Linked DNA regions of Homo sapiens: all the other regions are linked to region 5. The links are contacts of gene promoters, found by promoter capture Hi-C in blood cells and fetal thymus (Javierre and others, 2016). All regions are on one chromosome and are shown on one strand. Each heading gives the region's core, a stretch centred on a gene start or on the middle of the fragment in contact. The rest is flanking DNA. Distances are from core to core; before and after follow the strand shown.

Evidence for each region. The method cuts DNA at HindIII sites, captures the fragments that hold promoters and counts their contacts. A CHiCAGO score of 5 or more calls a contact.
Region 1: a contact is called between a fragment that was not itself captured here and the fragment with the promoter of CD200R1 in region 5, in 15 of 17 cell types (M1 macrophages, monocytes, M2 macrophages and 12 more). The highest score is 17.7, in M1 macrophages.
Region 2: a fragment that was not itself captured here is called in contact with the fragment with the promoter of CD200R1 in region 5 in 3 of 17 cell types (M0 macrophages, monocytes and M2 macrophages); the score reaches 6.2 in M0 macrophages.
Region 3: a contact is called between a fragment that was not itself captured here and the fragment with the promoter of CD200R1 in region 5, in 3 of 17 cell types (M1 macrophages, erythroblasts and megakaryocytes). The highest score is 8.8, in M1 macrophages.
Region 4: a fragment that was not itself captured here is called in contact with the fragment with the promoter of CD200R1 in region 5 in 2 of 17 cell types (M1 macrophages and megakaryocytes); the score reaches 7.1 in M1 macrophages.
Region 6: a contact is called between a fragment that was not itself captured here and the fragment with the promoter of CD200R1 in region 5, in 5 of 17 cell types (total CD8 T cells, erythroblasts, M1 macrophages and 2 more). The highest score is 5.9, in total CD8 T cells.

What each region holds. Positions count from the first base shown.
Region 1 is chr3:112,688,408-112,691,125 of GRCh38, forward strand. No RefSeq gene overlaps it. Among named protein-coding and RNA genes, the nearest start is that of MIR9900, 47 kb to the right of the region's middle. The HindIII fragment of the contact is 1,605 bases long and covers 632-2,236 here.
Region 2 is chr3:112,706,425-112,709,164 of GRCh38, forward strand. No RefSeq gene overlaps it. Among named protein-coding and RNA genes, the nearest start is that of MIR9900, 29 kb to the right of the region's middle. The HindIII fragment of the contact is 3,822 bases long and covers 1-2,740 here.
Region 3 is chr3:112,599,132-112,601,831 of GRCh38, forward strand. CCDC80 (coiled-coil domain containing 80) reads right to left here. Exons shown (of 8, transcript NM_199511.3): 8 at 1-2,700. Among named protein-coding and RNA genes, the nearest start is that of SLC35A5, 38 kb to the left of the region's middle. The HindIII fragment of the contact is 3,746 bases long and covers 1-2,700 here.
Region 4 is chr3:112,617,369-112,620,068 of GRCh38, forward strand. It overlaps CCDC80 (coiled-coil domain containing 80), which reads right to left. Exons shown (of 8, transcript NM_199511.3): 4 at 1,600-1,736. Among named protein-coding and RNA genes, the nearest start is that of CCDC80, 22 kb to the right of the region's middle. The HindIII fragment of the contact is 9,423 bases long and covers 1-2,700 here.
Region 5 is chr3:112,973,820-112,976,529 of GRCh38, forward strand. CD200R1 (CD200 receptor 1) reads right to left here and starts at 1,284. Exons shown (of 8, transcript NM_138806.4): 1 at 972-1,284. The coding sequence starts at 1,038. The HindIII fragment of the contact is 1,253 bases long and covers 1,243-2,495 here.
Region 6 is chr3:112,663,701-112,666,400 of GRCh38, forward strand. No RefSeq gene overlaps it. Among named protein-coding and RNA genes, the nearest start is that of CCDC80, 24 kb to the left of the region's middle. RefSeq lists an enhancer at 1,178-1,751. The HindIII fragment of the contact is 3,103 bases long and covers 1-2,700 here.

The sequences.
Region 1 (2,718 bases), core at 184-2,683, 290 kb before region 5:
TTATGAGTTCCAGCCTCTTGACTTTCAATTTACAAAACAGAACTGATAAATTTACCTCTTTACAAGGCTGCGGTGGGGATTTGGTAAGATGAAGGTTTTTGCACAGTGCCTGGCATATAGTAAGGGCTCAGTAGATGTTACTTGTATGTAGTATTAAGTAGAACTCAAGCACATACAAGAGCAGGTTCTTCAAAGCTCAGCTGATGACTACCTCATTGACCACTGAAGTCCTAGCAGCTAGCACAGGATGAATACTCAATAAATATTTGTTAAGTGAATAAAGTTACAAGTTTTTTCCCTGTTTCATTTGCCCACCAGTCCATAACCTTCATCCCTTGCTTCCTCTATCACAAAGGAACTTTGATAGAGTCAGAGGAAAGAGTATCATGAGTAGGTGAAGTTGGCTATGCTAACAGGACTGGTCAAAACTAAAAAAAAGCAAGAGCCCAGTGGGAAGACGGCAGCCTAGAGGAACCAGACATCTGGGAAGGTCACAACTAGGAACCAGGAAGGGGGAGAGACTGAATAAAAGGGCAGGTCCAGGGCATGCGGATTCTGTGTGCTTTTTTTTCCAAGGACTGGCTATGCTGGGAATTGCAGCAAGCTGAATCCATCAAAGTTGAAATATAAAAGCTTCTTTCAAGTTTTGCCAGGAACTGTCTGTGTGTGACTCATTCCAGGTAGGATGTAAAAGACCATGCTCAATAACCAGACACATATGTATTTATTGTGCTCCACCCTTTTCTCCCTGATTCCTTTCTCCCTCTCCTTCCAGGATTTCCTCCTGTTTGCAAGTTTGATGGGAATGGAGAAGGCTGGGAAGCTCTGCTTCTTTACATTTTTAAACTTGAGGCAACAATCTGCTTTTATAAGCATCAGTAAAACCAGAGTGCTGTCCCCTCATTTCTGTAAAATTAGATTCAGTTTTTGTTTCAAATAAAATAAATGGTGTGCACTCAGACTGCTGAATGCAGAAAGATTGTTAATCACAAACTTATCAGCTGTTAGTCTTAGGTCTAGAGTTTCCCTCACTCTAGTCAACCTTTTTGATGTGCTGTGTTCTAACCTCTTCTTACCAGGAATGTTCATCAAGGGGAACATTTCTAGCCTTCGGTTTTAAAGCCCCTAGCTCACCAGCTCACCACCTTATTGAGGAAGAGAAAGTATCATATGGAATTATGTTTTCAGTCTTGCAGACAGTGGTTGGAGATTGCAAGGCCAACCTGAAGTAGGTGTGGTTTTTTGTTTTGTTTTCAGCTAAAATTGCTTGTTGGTATTGGCAGGAGGCTTAGTAGAAAAGGAGGGGAGAATTTGTCCCTGGCAGTTTTTAAATCCACAAAAAGCCAGCATTTGCTTTGCAAGCACATATCTCCTAAGTTTTGTGGGCTCCTGCCCACAGTAGGCAAGCAGTTTACTCTTTGTCTGCAGCAACTCACCATACTTCAAGACTCCTTCGATGTTGATTCCCCATTTGGTTCAAGCTCTCTGACCTACAGCAATTTTACTACTACATCAGCGCTGAGAGTAGACAGCAACAAAGACATCAAAAGACCCTTGGCTTATTTTTACACCCTATTGCTCAGCCTTTGTTGTTACTGCATTAGTGATTTTCCTGCTTTCATTTTGTGGCTTTCTACTTCTGTAGCTATTCTTTCTTCAGCTCTTTTAATAAACATTATTCATACTTTCCTTTCCTACTTTTTAAAAATTCTAATTGTCCCAGCTCAGTAGCGGCCTTGCCAGACACAGGCCCAGTGGAGCAGGCACCAAAGCTAGGAATGCAGGGCAAGCTGAATCCAGAGGTCACAGGGGCACAGGAAAATCCCAGGACACAAAGGCCCCAGTGCAGGTTGCACAGGAGAGGCAAGTGACTAAGTTAGACACAAAATATAGACTAGGTGCTGATGCCAGGAACAAATAGCATAAAAAGTCAAAACTAAAGCCAGAATTCAAAGCAGGAGCACTGCGAACCATGGCTCCAATTTCAGAGGTAAATTAGCAAGGAATGGCCTTTTAACCACTAGAATAACTACCATTGCTGGAATATTGACCATAGACCGGAAACTGCATGATCCCTTACATTGAAACTCTGCATGGGTTAGTCGCCATGATCCCTCATGTGCAGAGGAAGAAACTGAGGCTCAGAAGTGGAATTATTTGGCCACACCACACTTTAGACCTAGGTGTGTATGACTATAAGCCATCCTCTTCCCATGAGTCTCACTGCTACTGGGTAAGCTTTTGGTGTTCTATGTCTGGCTACCTCTTCTTTTTTTTAAAACAAACAAACAAACAAATAAAAAACTCTTTTATTTTAGATTCAGGAATACAAGTGCAGGCGTGTTATATAGATAAACTCGTGTCACGGGGGTTTGATGTACAGATTATTTTGTCACCCAGGTACTAAGCCTAATAACCAATAGGTATTATTTCTGCTCCTCTCCATCCTCCCATCCTCTGGTAGGCCCCAGAGTCTGTTGTTCCCCTCTTTGTGTCCATGTGTTCTCATAATTTAGCTCCCACTTGTAAGTGAGAACATGCTATATTTGGTTTTCTGATCTTGTGTTCGTTTGCTAAGGATAATGACCTTCAGCTTCATCCATGCCCCTGCAAAGGACATGGTCACATTCTTTTTTATAGCTGCATAGTATTCTACAGTGTATATGTACCACATTTTCTTCATTCAGTCTATCATTAATGGGCATTTGGGTTTATTCC
Region 2 (2,740 bases), core at 160-2,659, 270 kb before region 5:
AGCATTCCCTTTTCTCTGCAACCTTGCCAGCATGTTATTTTTGACTTTTTAATAATAGCCATTCTGACTAGTATGAGATGGTATCCCATTTTGTTTTTGATTTGCATTTCTCTAATAATCAGTAATATTGAGCTTTTTTCATATGCTTCTTTTGAAAAGTGTCTGTTCATGTCCTTTGTCCACTTTTTAATGGGGTCATTTTTTTACTTGTAAATTTCTTTAAGTTCCTTATAGATGCTGGATATTAGACCTTTGTCAGATGCATGGTTTGCAAATGTTTTCTTTTATTTTGTAAGTTGTCTATTTATTCTCTTGATGGTTTTGTTTGCTGTGCAGAAGCTCTTTAATTAGATCCCATTTATCAATTTTTGCTTTTGTTGCAATTGCTTTTGGCATCTTTGTCATGAAGTCTTTGCCAGTTCCTATGTCCCGAATGGTATTGCCTAGGTTGTCTTCAAATTTTTTTTTACAGTTTTGGGTTTTACATTTAAGTCTTTAGTCTATCTTGAGTTAATTTTTGTGTATGGTATAAAGAAGGGGTCCACTTTCAGACTTCCACATGTGACTAACCAGTTATCTCAGTACCATTTATTGAATATGGAATCCTTTTCCTATTGCTCGTTTTTGTCAGTTGTTTTAAAGATCAGATGGTTGTAGATGTGCAACATTGTTTCAGCAGTCTTTATTCTGTTCTGTTGACCTATGTTTCTGTTTTTGTACCAGTACCATGCTATTTTGGTTACTGTAGCTCTGTAGTATAGTTTGAAGTTGGGTACTGTGATGTTTCCTATGTTGGTGTTGGAAGCAATGTACAAAATGTACAAAAATTGCTAGCATTCCTATACACTGACAACAGTCTTCCTTGGATGTTGTTGATATGTAGGAATGCTGGCAATTTTTGTACATTGATTTTGTATCCTGAAATCTTGCTGATGTTGTTTATCAGCTTAAGGAGATTTGGGGCTGAGAATATGGGGTTTTCTAGATATAGAATTATGTCATGTGCAAACAGGAATCGTTTGACTTCCTCTTCTCCTATTTGGATGCCTTTTATCTCTTGCCTGATTGCTCTGGCCAGGACCTCCAATACTATGTTGAATAAGAGTGGTGAGATAGGGCACCCTTGTCTTGTGCCGGTTTTCAAGAGAAATGCTTCCAGCTTTTGCCTACTTAGTATGACGTTGGCTATGGGGTTTGTCATAGATGGCTCTTATTATTTTGAGGTATCTTCCCTCAATTCTTTGTTTGTTAAGAGCCTTTAACATAAAGGGATGTTGAATTTAATGGAAGCCTTTTCTGCATTTATTGAGATGATCATATGGTTTTTGTCTTTAGTTCTGTTTATCTGATGAATCATGTTTATTGATTTGGATATGTTGAACCAACTTTGCATCCCAGTAATAAAGCCTGCTTTCATGGTGGATTAACTTTTTGATGTACTGCTGGATTCAGTTTGTCAGTATTTTGTTAACTTAACATAGACTTTTGCATCTGTATTAATCAAGGATATTGGCCTGAAGTTTTCTTTGTTTGTTGTGTCTCTGCCATGTTTGGTATCAGGATAATATTGACCTCATAGAATCAGTTGGAGAGGAGTCCCTCCTCCTCAACTTTCTGAAATAGTTTTAAGAGGAATGGTACCAGTTCTTCTTTGTACATCTGATGGAATTCAGCTGTGAATCTGTCTGGTCCAGGACTTTTTTGGCTGGTAGGCTATTTATTACTGATTCAATTTCAGATCTCGTTATTGGTCTGTTCAGGGATTCAATTTCTTTTTGATTCAGTCCTGAGAGGGGTTATGTGTTCAAGAATGTATCCATTTCTTCTATATTCTCTAGCTTGTGTGCATAGAGTTGTTCATATTAGCCTCTAATGGTGATTTGTATTTCTGTGGGGTCAGTGGTAATATCCCTTTTGTTGTTTCCGACTGTGTTTACTTGCATCTTCTCTCTTTTCTTCTTTATTAGTCTAGCTAGCAGTCTATCTATCTTATTTTTTTTTTCAAAACCCCACTCCTGGCTTCATTGATCTTTTAGATGGTTTTTTTGTATCTCAAAAGCTGTCTTCAGTTCAGTTCTGATTTTGGTTATTTCTTGGCTTCTGTTAGCTTTGTGGTTGGTTTGCTCTTGCCTCTCTAGTTCTTTTTGTTGTGATGTTAGGTTGTTAATTTGAGATCTTTCTAACTTTATGATGTAGGCATTTAGCACTATAAATTTCCCTCTTAACGCTGTCTTAGCTGTGTCCCAGAGATTCTGGGTATGTTGTAGCTTTGTTTTCATTAGTTTTAAAGAACTTATTTATTTCTGTCTTAATTTTAGTATTTACCCAAAAGTCATTCTGGAGCAGGTTGTTTAATTTCCATGTAATCATATGGTTTTCAGCAATTTTCTTAGACTTGAATTCTATTTTTTTGCACTGTGGTCTGAGAGAGTGGTTAGTATGATTTTAGTTCCTTTGTATTTTCTAAGGATTGTTTTATGTCCAATTGTGTGGCCAATTTTTGAGTACGTACCAGGTGCAGATGAGAAGAATATATAATCTGTTGTTTTGGGGTGGCGTGTTCTGCAGAGGTATATCAGATCCATTTGGTCCAGTGTTGAGTTCAGGTCCTGAATACCTTTGTTAATTTTCAGCCTCAATGATCTAATACCACCAGTGGGGTTGTAAAGTCTCCTGCTACTATTGTTTGAAAGTTTAAGTCTCTTTGTAGGTCTCTAAGAACTTGTTTTATGAATCTGAG
Region 3 (2,700 bases), core at 165-2,664, 370 kb before region 5:
GGCCCATAGGTAAAACATCTCACCTCCAGTCACACAGGTAAGTACATGGCAGGGCAAGGACAGGCACCCAGTTTTCCCAAGTCCAGTGGCCTTTTCATGATACCCATTTCTGTGTATCATTTCATTGATTTCTGTGACAGCTGGCCCTTTGCCCCTCATCACCAAATCTTAACTCTTTGGACTTTAATAATGTGCAAAATTAAGAGGAAGTCTGGCATCGGGAGCTTTACACAACTCAGAGAGAACTGAGGAAAGTAGTTAGCATGTTAACTGTGCCTCACCTTGACCTGAAGTGAAGAGCACTCACCAAGCCACAACCTGCTATCTGCACACCCCACACCATGAGGTAAAGGACAGCCAAGGAAGAGAAAGGAAAGAAAAGCAATCCGGCAGGGAGATCAGGGAGCGAAACGAACAGAGAAACGAACAGAGGTTTTTTCCAAGGGCCTTCTATTTTTCTACAATCTCCACACATTCAGTACTGAGACACATTAAGAAGGGCCCACTGAGGCCATCATTCACCCTACTCTCGGGCTGCTTCCATCCTCCAGGCTTCTAGAAGTTGAGAAAGTATGAGCTTCATTGTTAATTATATTACAGAAAATGGGACCAGCTGGGTTGCACCCACTCCCCTGTGTCTGGACCTCCTGCCTATGTAGCAGAAAAGGATCTTTCTGCTGAATTAATATTCACCTCAGAGCCCTGGGAGATGTCTGATGAAAAGTAGTTTTTGAAGAGTCTTGTGACAACCAGCAATTTCGGCAAAGCTATGTCCTCAAGAGTCTTCCAGATTTCCCCAACTCTACAGAATGCTTTTCTTTTTAAATACCATAATCCCATAATCTTTCTCAAAAATTATAAAACTGTATTTTATTTTTCTCATTTATTTGGGAGTTTGGTAAGAAACGTTTGGGAAGAAATGCTTTTATGGAGAAACTACTCAGATTTGAAACTACCTAGTTTATACTACCAGAAGACAGAGATTCAGGTTAGCTAGTTTGCTAATCCTCACAGTTTCAGAGATATGCCTTGTATTTTTCCAGATTATAGGCTTTGAGGACATTCACCAATAGCATCCTCCTCTGAATGTATTTTGGTCCTTTTGCTAAGCTATGTCTTATTTTATAGTCCTCCAAATGATGATCTATGACTTCTCTGCCTGCTCATTAGAGGAAGAAAAGCTCAGATGCATTGCTAACTATTATTTCAATGCCAGTGGAACTGGAGAAATGCTTGAAAAAGTAATCTCAGGTTGTAAAAAAGAACTATCTTTTTTTGGTTGCAGGAGCTAGAACCCTATTATTCTGAGAGTAAATTTTCTATTATTCCTATCTAATTCATTTTCTTGGGAGATGAAACTCCCTCTTTTTTTTGGTGGGGAGACAGGGTCTCACTTTGTCACCCAGGATGATGATGATGGAGTGCTGTGGCACGATCACGGCACACTGAAGCCTCGACCTCCTAGGCTCAAGCGATTCTCTCACTTCAGCCTCCTGAATAGCTGGGACCACAGACACACACCACCTTACCCAGCTAATTTTTTGTATTTTTTTGTAGAGACAGGGTTTTGCCGTGTTGCCCAGGCTGGTCTCGAAGTCCTGGGCTCAAGCGACCCGCTCACCTTGGCCTCCCAAAGTGCTGGGATTACAGGTGTGAGCCCCTCACTGCTCCTGGCTCCCTCATTATTATATTTCCTGAAGTTGACATGATTTGGGTCCTTTACTTAGAAATTGTCATCACACAATTTCAGAAAGGTAAAGAAATCCATTTTTATTGGCAACTTTGGGCTATGCTTCATCCTGGCAAAAATTTAAAAGCAGTACACTTCGACGTGGCTCACTTTCCTGCACACCTCAGGCAGCTTGTACAGACTATCCAAGAAAAAATGAGGAGGAAAGTGCTCCATCAAGGAAGAGGGATGAGATGGGAGCATAATTCACACACTAAGAACTGAGTTCTAAAGTCACTTGAGCTTTCTGGAGCTCAGTTACCTGTAAAACAAGGAAGAATGAATGGTCTTTATGGAAAATGAATGGCAGAATAAGTGATTTGTCAAGTTCATTGAACTATAAATTCCATTTTTACTGTCATTTATTTATAACAAAGTTCAGATATAAAGAAAAATCTGAACATACAGTAGGCACAGATAAACCTATAGCAAATATTCACATGTGGTTTGAATGCATTTATTAATCTCTGTACTTATTAGAATTAATAATAATACTAAAATGATTTGGAGAATTAATGATTAATAACAGTGGAAAATAGCCTTCCCATTATTGTTAGAGGATGGTGCCATCATGATGCTAAATGCCTATCTGAGGGGAAGCTCATAAATATTACTTGACAATATTACTTGATAAATATTTGTTGAAAAAAGAAATGTAGTAAAGAAGCAAGGATGGCTGGGCATGGTGGAGCATGGCTGTGGTCCCAGCTAACTTGGGATGCTGAGGTGGGAGGATTGTTTGAGGGAAGCTGAGTTTGCAGTGAGCCAAGATTGCACTACTGCACTGCAGCCTGGGTGACAGAGTGAGACCCTCTCCAAAAAAAGAAAAAAAAAAAGAGAAAAAAAAGAAGCAGCAGCAACGAAAGGAGGGAGGAAGGGAGAAAGTTTACTTTGATATGCCATATGATTGAAACAAATGCTCTTTTTTCAAAGACAAGGATTATACTCCTTTGCATTCCAGCTACTTTGGT
Region 4 (2,700 bases), core at 13-2,512, 360 kb before region 5:
TAAGTTGGGATCCAACTTAAAGACAATGAAATTCAGATTCCTGAATCACAGCTGCCTGGACTTACAAAAGCAACCTGAGATGGATTTAGGGGCTGGCTGAGCGTAATCAGCATAAACTGGAGAGCAGTCTGGACATGGCTCGAAGCTCTGCCCTCTGTGGGAATTCAGTAAATCACAGAATGTGAGAGCTGGTAAGGACCTTAGAGATTATCTGGCCCAACCTCTCTCATTAGAGATGAGACAACATGTGTGCAGAATTAACTAATGATGCCATTTCTCCAGATCCAGAAATATGTTGCATGTTGGGTCAGCTATTCTGATAGCATAGACAGCCTTTTTTTCCCGTGAAGATTCTCACACAAGCATGGTATATGAATGACTTTTTCATGAACATTTTTTGTGTTCCCCATTTCACATGGTTTCAGAAGCCTGGAATTTTAAAAGAACATTTTGATAAGTTGTTTTAAAAATTGTTTAGGGAATGCTTTAAAGAAGTATTAAGATAAACTTTAGTAAAATGTATTTTCAGTGATATAGTGCCAGTATGCCAAAATTGTTAAGACAGTGGGTTCGGGAGCCAGCCTCTGTGGGAATGAAGTTCAACACTAATTGCATGATGACCTTGGGCTAGTTACTTAACCATTCTGGGCCTCTGTTTTTTCCTCTGTGAAACAAAAATAATGTTAGCATTTATCTTAGACGTGTGAGACTAAGGATTGCAAAGGGTTGAAGAAAGTGCCAGGCATAAGGAAAGCACTTGATAAAGTGACTATTTTTGTTATTGTTATTATTACATGGTATAGTTTTTCATGGTTCAGAACTTTTGTCCGCAAGCATAGAAAGAAACTAGGTGTAAAACCCCAAACTTTTGGCAGGGCGTGGTGGCTCACGCCTGTAATCCCAGCACTTTGGGAGGCCGAGGCAGGCAGATCACGAGGTCAGGAGATCGAGACCATCCTTGCTAACACAGTGAAACCCCATCTCTACTAAAAATACAAAAATAAAATTAGCCGGGTGTGGTGGCGGGTGCTTACTGTAGTCCCAGCTACTCGGGAGGATGAGGCAGGAGAATGGCGTGAACCTGGGGGGTGGAGCTTGCAGTGAGCCGAGATCACGCCACTGCACTCCAGCCTGGGCAACAGGGTGAGACTCCGTCTCAAAATAATAAAAAAAAAACAACCCCAAACTCTTGTCCACATTGGATCAGGAGGCACACTTCTAGACCCCTCTGAGATAGGCCTATGTTAAATATGGGTTTCTTGAAGGCAGAGACCACTCTTCACCTTTTATCTCCAGGACCTCGCACATCATAGCTATTTAACTAGTGTCTTATGAATGTAAAACATTGTTGTTAGAAAAGAATTTAGTCTGAGTCAAGTAGCTGGGCTGTGGGAAGTCACTCCAACTCAGTCTTTGTCAGAGACCACATTTCTGGATGCAAATTCGTAGGACAACATGGAAAATTTGGCCCATCTCAAAACTTTCCCATTTATAAAATAATTTATGCTTACTCGTACATTGAATGGACTGTTTAACAAAACAATTCAGATTTGCTATTCTAAGAAATAGTACTACATTATTCAGAATAAGAAACTGTACCTTGACTCTCAGATCCACATCTGTTAGCACCATGAAGAAGTCATTGTAGGTCATTCCGTACTCTTTCCTCAGCTCGCTGATGAGACGCTGGTCTACCAAGTCTTCATCATCCACCACTCGCATGGGCTTCTCATTATCTTAAGGGAAATAAAATGTGAATGAATATGGGTGTGGCAAGGCAGAAATCATTGGGAGGTGAATGGGTGAAGGCTTTGGGCCTAATCACACCAGCCTTCATTAGTTTTATATATTCAACTCACGTTGTGTTTGAACAAAAGTTTTCGGAGTAAATTAATAAATATAGAAATAAACACATGAATAAAGTTTTGAAAGCTACTCTTCTATAGATGATCAAGGCTCCATCTCTGTCCATCCTGTTCACAGCAAACAGGAACAAAGGAACAAAGTGAGAGTGGAGACTGCTGAGTCATACCTAGGAGAAGACTGCAACTCACCCAGGGAGTGAGTCTTCACCCTAACTCACCGGGGAACTGGACCGACCCAGACAATTTGTTAAGTTCTGTTTCCATTAAACATAATTCTGAGTCTAAAACCTGTGTCTGTTCCTCTTTTTTGGTATAGAATTAACTTTGGGACCCAGTAAGCATGTCATATCTATAGAGAAAAATAGAGTTTCTGTTGAAACCTAGTCACAGTTTCATTTGGGCTCCAAAAGAAGTCAAGCTATTCATAATGCAAATTTTGTAAGTGAACACAGTTTAAAACAAAATGTGACAATTTATGGAAATTTTAAATCACTATATGTTTTTTCAATCATCAGCCTCCCCAAATAAATCCTTATAATTCAGAATGGTTCCAGAAGGTGTCACTGGATTAATGGGAAGCATGAAAATCAAGATACTAGTGGCTTTACATGGCAACTTGTATGTCAGGAAAGCATTTTAACATTTTCAAGGACAGAAGAGCTTTATTTACTTCTTCCCGCTAAAACAAGTCACAGTATATCTCTCAACCCTACCTAAGATTTTATCTGCAAAATAATCCCCTATATTAAAAACAAATGTGAAAAAATTAATGTTAGCAAATATATGATAACAGGAAAATTACCAATGAGAGCCTATCACTTATTACCAACATCAC
Region 5 (2,710 bases), core at 34-2,533:
GAAAACTCCCTCCCACACCAACTCCTACCAACCTTCTACAGTGAAACCAGGACACCCCCACAGTGGCCCAAGTTCTCTATAACTTCTATAGGAACCTAGATGTTGAAGAGTCTGTTCTCTAACTCGTAGTGTCTCTTACAGCCCACACATCTTGAAGATAAATACAGACATACATCACAGACGCACCACTGTAACTGTAGGCATATTATATTTTTGAAGTGCCTAATCATCGAAAGTGACAGAAAGCAATAAACTGTCCTAATCTATGCCACTGGCAATGTGGACCTAAATGAGTTAGCGTTCTTATCTTAAAAAAAAAAATTAAGAGAGAAGAGGCTGGGTGCAGTGGCTCATGCCTGTAATCCCAATGCTTTGGGAGTCTGAGGTGGGAGAATTGCTTGAAGACAGGAGCTCAAGACCAGCATGGACAATATAGCAAGACTCTATCTCTACCAAAAATTTTAAAAATTAGCCAAGCATAGTGGCGCATATCTGTAGTCCTAGACACTCAGGAGGCTGAGTGGGAGGACTGCTTGAGACCTGGAGTTACAGGCTGCAGTGAGCTACGATTGCACCACTGCACTCCAGCCTGGGCAACAGAGCAAGACCCTGTCTCAAAAAAGGGGGTTGGGGAAGAGAATAAGATAAAGAGAACCTAACTGACTTTGATTGCTGCTAGTATGTATTTGATTTATCCTGCCTTGTTCAAAAAACAGGAGGAAATAAGGAAATGGACAGTAAGACAAATTATAGAGATCTGTATATTGTAGTAGGATACAAAGTACAACAAGCAAGACACCGGAAAAAAGGATAATAAAGTAAACTAGATATGGGAGTAACCCATATTTAGCAACCCCCTATATTTATTATTGCAATTGATTTGTATTGCCCCAGAAGAAAGACAAAAAATAAACTCAGGAAGAGCTGAGACCAGGTTTCTCACTGTTCTCCCAAAGAGAATTCAAACTTACCGGCCACTAAGAAGATAGTCAAAATCAACAGTAGCCCTAGGTTAGCAGTTCTCCAAGGGCAGAGCATTTCTGTTTTCTCTTTTTCTGCCCTTCACTCAGTACTTTTCCTCCACACAGGTACAGAAGGAACTGTGCGCATGGTGAGACCCTCTCTGGTCAACTTCTCAGTACAGGATCCTCTTACCCCATCAACAGTGGGGCACTCCCTTCCTTCTAGCCCCTTCCTTCACGTCTATGTGGTTTAGCCTGGTTAGTAACTTGGACGAACAGAAGCTTTTCTCTGGAACTTGACACAGCAATAGATTTCCTGTATGAAGCCCTGAAGCAAAGACGGAGGAAGCAGATTGATTGAATTATCTCTCAGCTCATTGGTTCTCCTCTCACTTCTGCTGTACACAGACAAACTTTACAGTAAGGCATTGAACGTGTCCAAGATAAACAGATTTGTCTAAACTTGCACCAAAAAGTAAAACAGAATATTGATCTACTTTGGCCCATCCTTGTAAATTTCCCAATTATGATGACTTTTAGAGGCTTTCTCCAGGTTGAAGAGCTTTACGGCCTTAGTATTTGAGTCTGGAATACAATATGTTTTCTTGAAAATTATTGTGTGAAATTCCTGTCTATAATGGGAGTCAACACACAACCCTGTAAACATCATATGTGTATTAGTTTCCTATTGCTACTGTAAGAAATTACCACAAACTCAGTGGCTTAACACAACACAACATTTATTATCTTACAGTTCTGGTGATCAGAAGTCTGAAATGGATCTTAGGGGACTAAAATCAAGGTGTTGGAAGGGCTGCACTCCATCTGGAGGCTCGGGCAGAATTTGCTCCCTGCCTTTTCCAGCGATTTGAGAATGCCTGCATTTCTTGGCTTGCAGCTACATCATTCGGACCTCTGGTCCACTGTCACATCTTCTCTGACTGTGACCCTTATGCCTCCCTTTTATAAAGACCTTGTGATTATTTTTGGTCCACCCAAATAATCCAACATGATCTAATTTCAAGATCTTAATTTAATCACATCTGCAAAGTCCTTTTTGCCACACAAGGTAACATTCACAGGTTTCGGTAATTCGGACATAGGTATCTACCTTGTTGGGGGTGAGGGCATTCTGTTTATCAGAACTCAGTACTTATTGCCATTCAGTTTCACCTTTGGAAAATTAGACTGATCATTTTAACCAAATTACAAATAATCACCCATCTCTTAGTTGCCACACATCTGGAATTCAGACTCCCCCTAACCAAAAAAAAAAAACAACAACAACAACAAAAAAACCTCTTCCTTACTGTTGCTAGTTACTATGTTACTATGCTTTTAAGTTATGTCTGAGAGAGGGAAAAATCTTCTATGTGCTGAGAATTTTCTGCCCCAAGGCAAAACTGTACAGGAAGGGGAAGAAAACATTGCAAACAGGAAAAAGATTAAACAGCATGCATTTTTTTTCTCAGTTAGCAGTTTCATCTTCCTTCTTGCCAAACATTATAAATATTTCCCCCCTTCCCCTTCTCAAGCTTTTTTTTCCAGTTAATTAATTTGATGAAGACAGTGAAACCAGATCCTTGAGGGCATGGAACACTTAAGGGTATGAGCTGTGACAATGGGAAGACCAAAACAAAAATGTCTTCTCTTCTGTCTAATGTTTCACCAGGTGTCGGAAAATTAGTGAGAATACATCATTTAAAATACAGATAATATTCTGGTTTTCCACTACATAGAAGTGAAAG
Region 6 (2,700 bases), core at 7-2,506, 310 kb before region 5:
GGAAGTTCTCCTGGATAATATCCTGCAGAGTGTTTTCCAACTTGGTTCCATTCTCCCCATCACTTTCAGGTACACCAATCAGACGTAGATTTGGTCTTTTTACATAGTCCCATATTTCTTGGAGGCTTTGCTCATTTCTTTTTATTCTTTTTTCTCTAAACTTGCCTTCTCGCTTCATTTCATTCATTTCATCTTCCATTGCTGATACCCTTTCTTCCAGTTGATCGCGTCAGCTCCTGAGGCTTCTGCATTCTTCACGTAGTTCTCAAGCCTTGGTTTTCAGCTCCATCAGCTCCTTTAAGCACTTCTCTGTATTGGTTATTCTAGTTATACATTCGTCTAAATTTTTTTCAAAGTTTTCAACTTCTTTGCCTTTGGTTTGAATGTCCTCCCGTAGCTCAGAGTAATTTGATCGTCTGAAGCCTTCTTCTCTCAACTGGTCAAAGTCATTCTCCATCCAGCTTTGTTCCATTGCTGGTGAGGAACTGCGTTCCTTTGGAGGAGGAGAGGCGCTCTGCTTTTTAGAGTTTCCAGTTTTTCTGTTCTGTTTTTTCCCCATCTTTGTGGTTTTATCTACTTTTGGTCTTTGATGATGGTGATGTACAGATGGGTTTTTGGTGTGGATGTCCTTTCTGTTTGTTAGTTTTCCTTCTAACAGACAGGACCCTCAGCTGCAGGTCTGTTGGAATACCCTGCCGTGTGAGGTGTCGGTGTGCCCCTGCTGGGGGGTGCCTCCCAGTTAGGCTGCTTGGGGGTTAGGGGTCAGGGACCCACTTGAGGAGGCAGTCTGCCCGTTCTCAGATCTCCAGGTGCGTGCTGGGAGAACCACTGCTCTCTTCAAAGCTGTCAGACAGGGACATTTAAGTCTGCAGAGGTTACTGCTGTCTTTTTGTTTGTCTGTGCCCTGCCCCCAGAGGTGGAGCCTACAGAGGCAGGCAGGCCTCCTTGAGCTGTGGTGGGCTCCACCCAGTTCGAGCTTCCCAGCTGCTTTGTTTACCTAATCAAGCCTGGGCAATGGTGGGCGCCCCTCCCCCAGCCTCGCTGCCGCCTTGCAGTTTGATCTCAGACTGCTGTGCTAGCAATCAGCGAGACTCCGTGGGCGTAGGACCCTCCGAGCCAGGTGTGGGATATAATCTCGTGGTGCGCCGTTTTTTAAGCCCGTCGGAAAAGCGCAGTATTCTGGTGGGAGTGACCCGATTTTCCAGGTGCTGTCAGTCACCGCTTTCTTTGACTCGGAAAGGGAACTCCCTGACCCCTTGCACTTCCCAAGTGAGGCAATGCCTCGCCCTGCTTCGGCTCGTGCACGATACGTGCACCCACTGACCTGCGCCCACTGTCTGGCACTCCCTAGTGAGATGAACCCGGTACCTCAGATGGAAATGCAGAAATCACCTGTCTTCTGCTTCGCTCACGCTGGGAGCTGTAGACCGGAGCTGTTCCTGTTCGGCCATCTTGGCTCCTCCCTGCCAGATAGCTCTTATTTTGAGGTATGTTCCTTCAATGCCTAGTTTGTTGAGGGTTTTTATCATGAAGGGATGTTGGATTTTATCAAAAGGTTTTTCCATGTCTATTGAGAGATCATATGTTTTTGTCTGTAGTTCTGTTTATGTGGTGTATCATGTTTATTGATTTATGTATGTCGAATCAACCTTGCATCCAAGGAATGAAGCCAAGTATGGTCACGGTGAATTAACTTTTTTATATCCTGTTGGATTTGGTTTGCTAGTATTTTGTTGAGGATTTTTGCATCTACGTTTATAAGGGATATGTGCCCGTAGTTTTCTTTTTTTGTTGTATCTTTGCCAGGTTTTGATATCAGGAGATATTGCTTTCATAGAATGAGTTAGAGAGGAGTGCCTCCTCAAATTTTTGGAGTAGTTTCAGAATTGGTAACAGTTCTTTGTATAACTGGTAGAATTTAGTTGGGAATCCATCTGGTTTTGAGCTTGCTGTGGCTGATAGGTTTTTTTAAATTACTGATTCAATTTTGGAACTTGATGTTGGTCGTTCAGGGTTCCAATTTCTTCCTGATTCAATCTTGGGAGATTGTGTGTTTCCAGGAATTTATCAGTTTCCTCTAGATTTTCTAGTTTGTGTGAATAGATGTTCATAGTGGCCTCTGAGGATCTTTTGTATTTCCGTATGGTCAGTGGTAACATCACTTTTGTCATTTCTTATTGTGCTGATTTAAATCTACTCTCTTTTGTTCATTAGTAGTCTTGCTAAAAGTCTATTTACCTTATTTGTCCTTTCAAATAACCAACTTTTTGTTTCAATGATTCTTTGTATGAATTTTTGGGTCTCAATTTTATTCAGTTCTGCTCTATCACCTCTATTTTAAAAGTAAAAACATTCCTGCTTTTATTCCTAAGCATGACTTATTTTAAAATTCCAATAAAAATTTAATTTATCATTGAATGTCCAAATCTTCTGCCTTCTCTTTAATATGAAATTTGGGGAAAGATACATTTCTTCTGATTTAACAACATTCTTCATACCTAAAGTCAAAAGGGAAAACTTTGCTTTGTATTTTTCTGTGTCTTCTTTTATAGTGTTTTCACAATGTCGTTGGTGGCCAAATTATTGTGCTTGAAATTTTGTGTTTGGTTAACACAAGCATACAAAAGAGGGAGTTTAATGTTTAGTGTCTGATTATTACTATTATTTATTAAAATTTTTTGCCTACTTTTTGTCATGCTG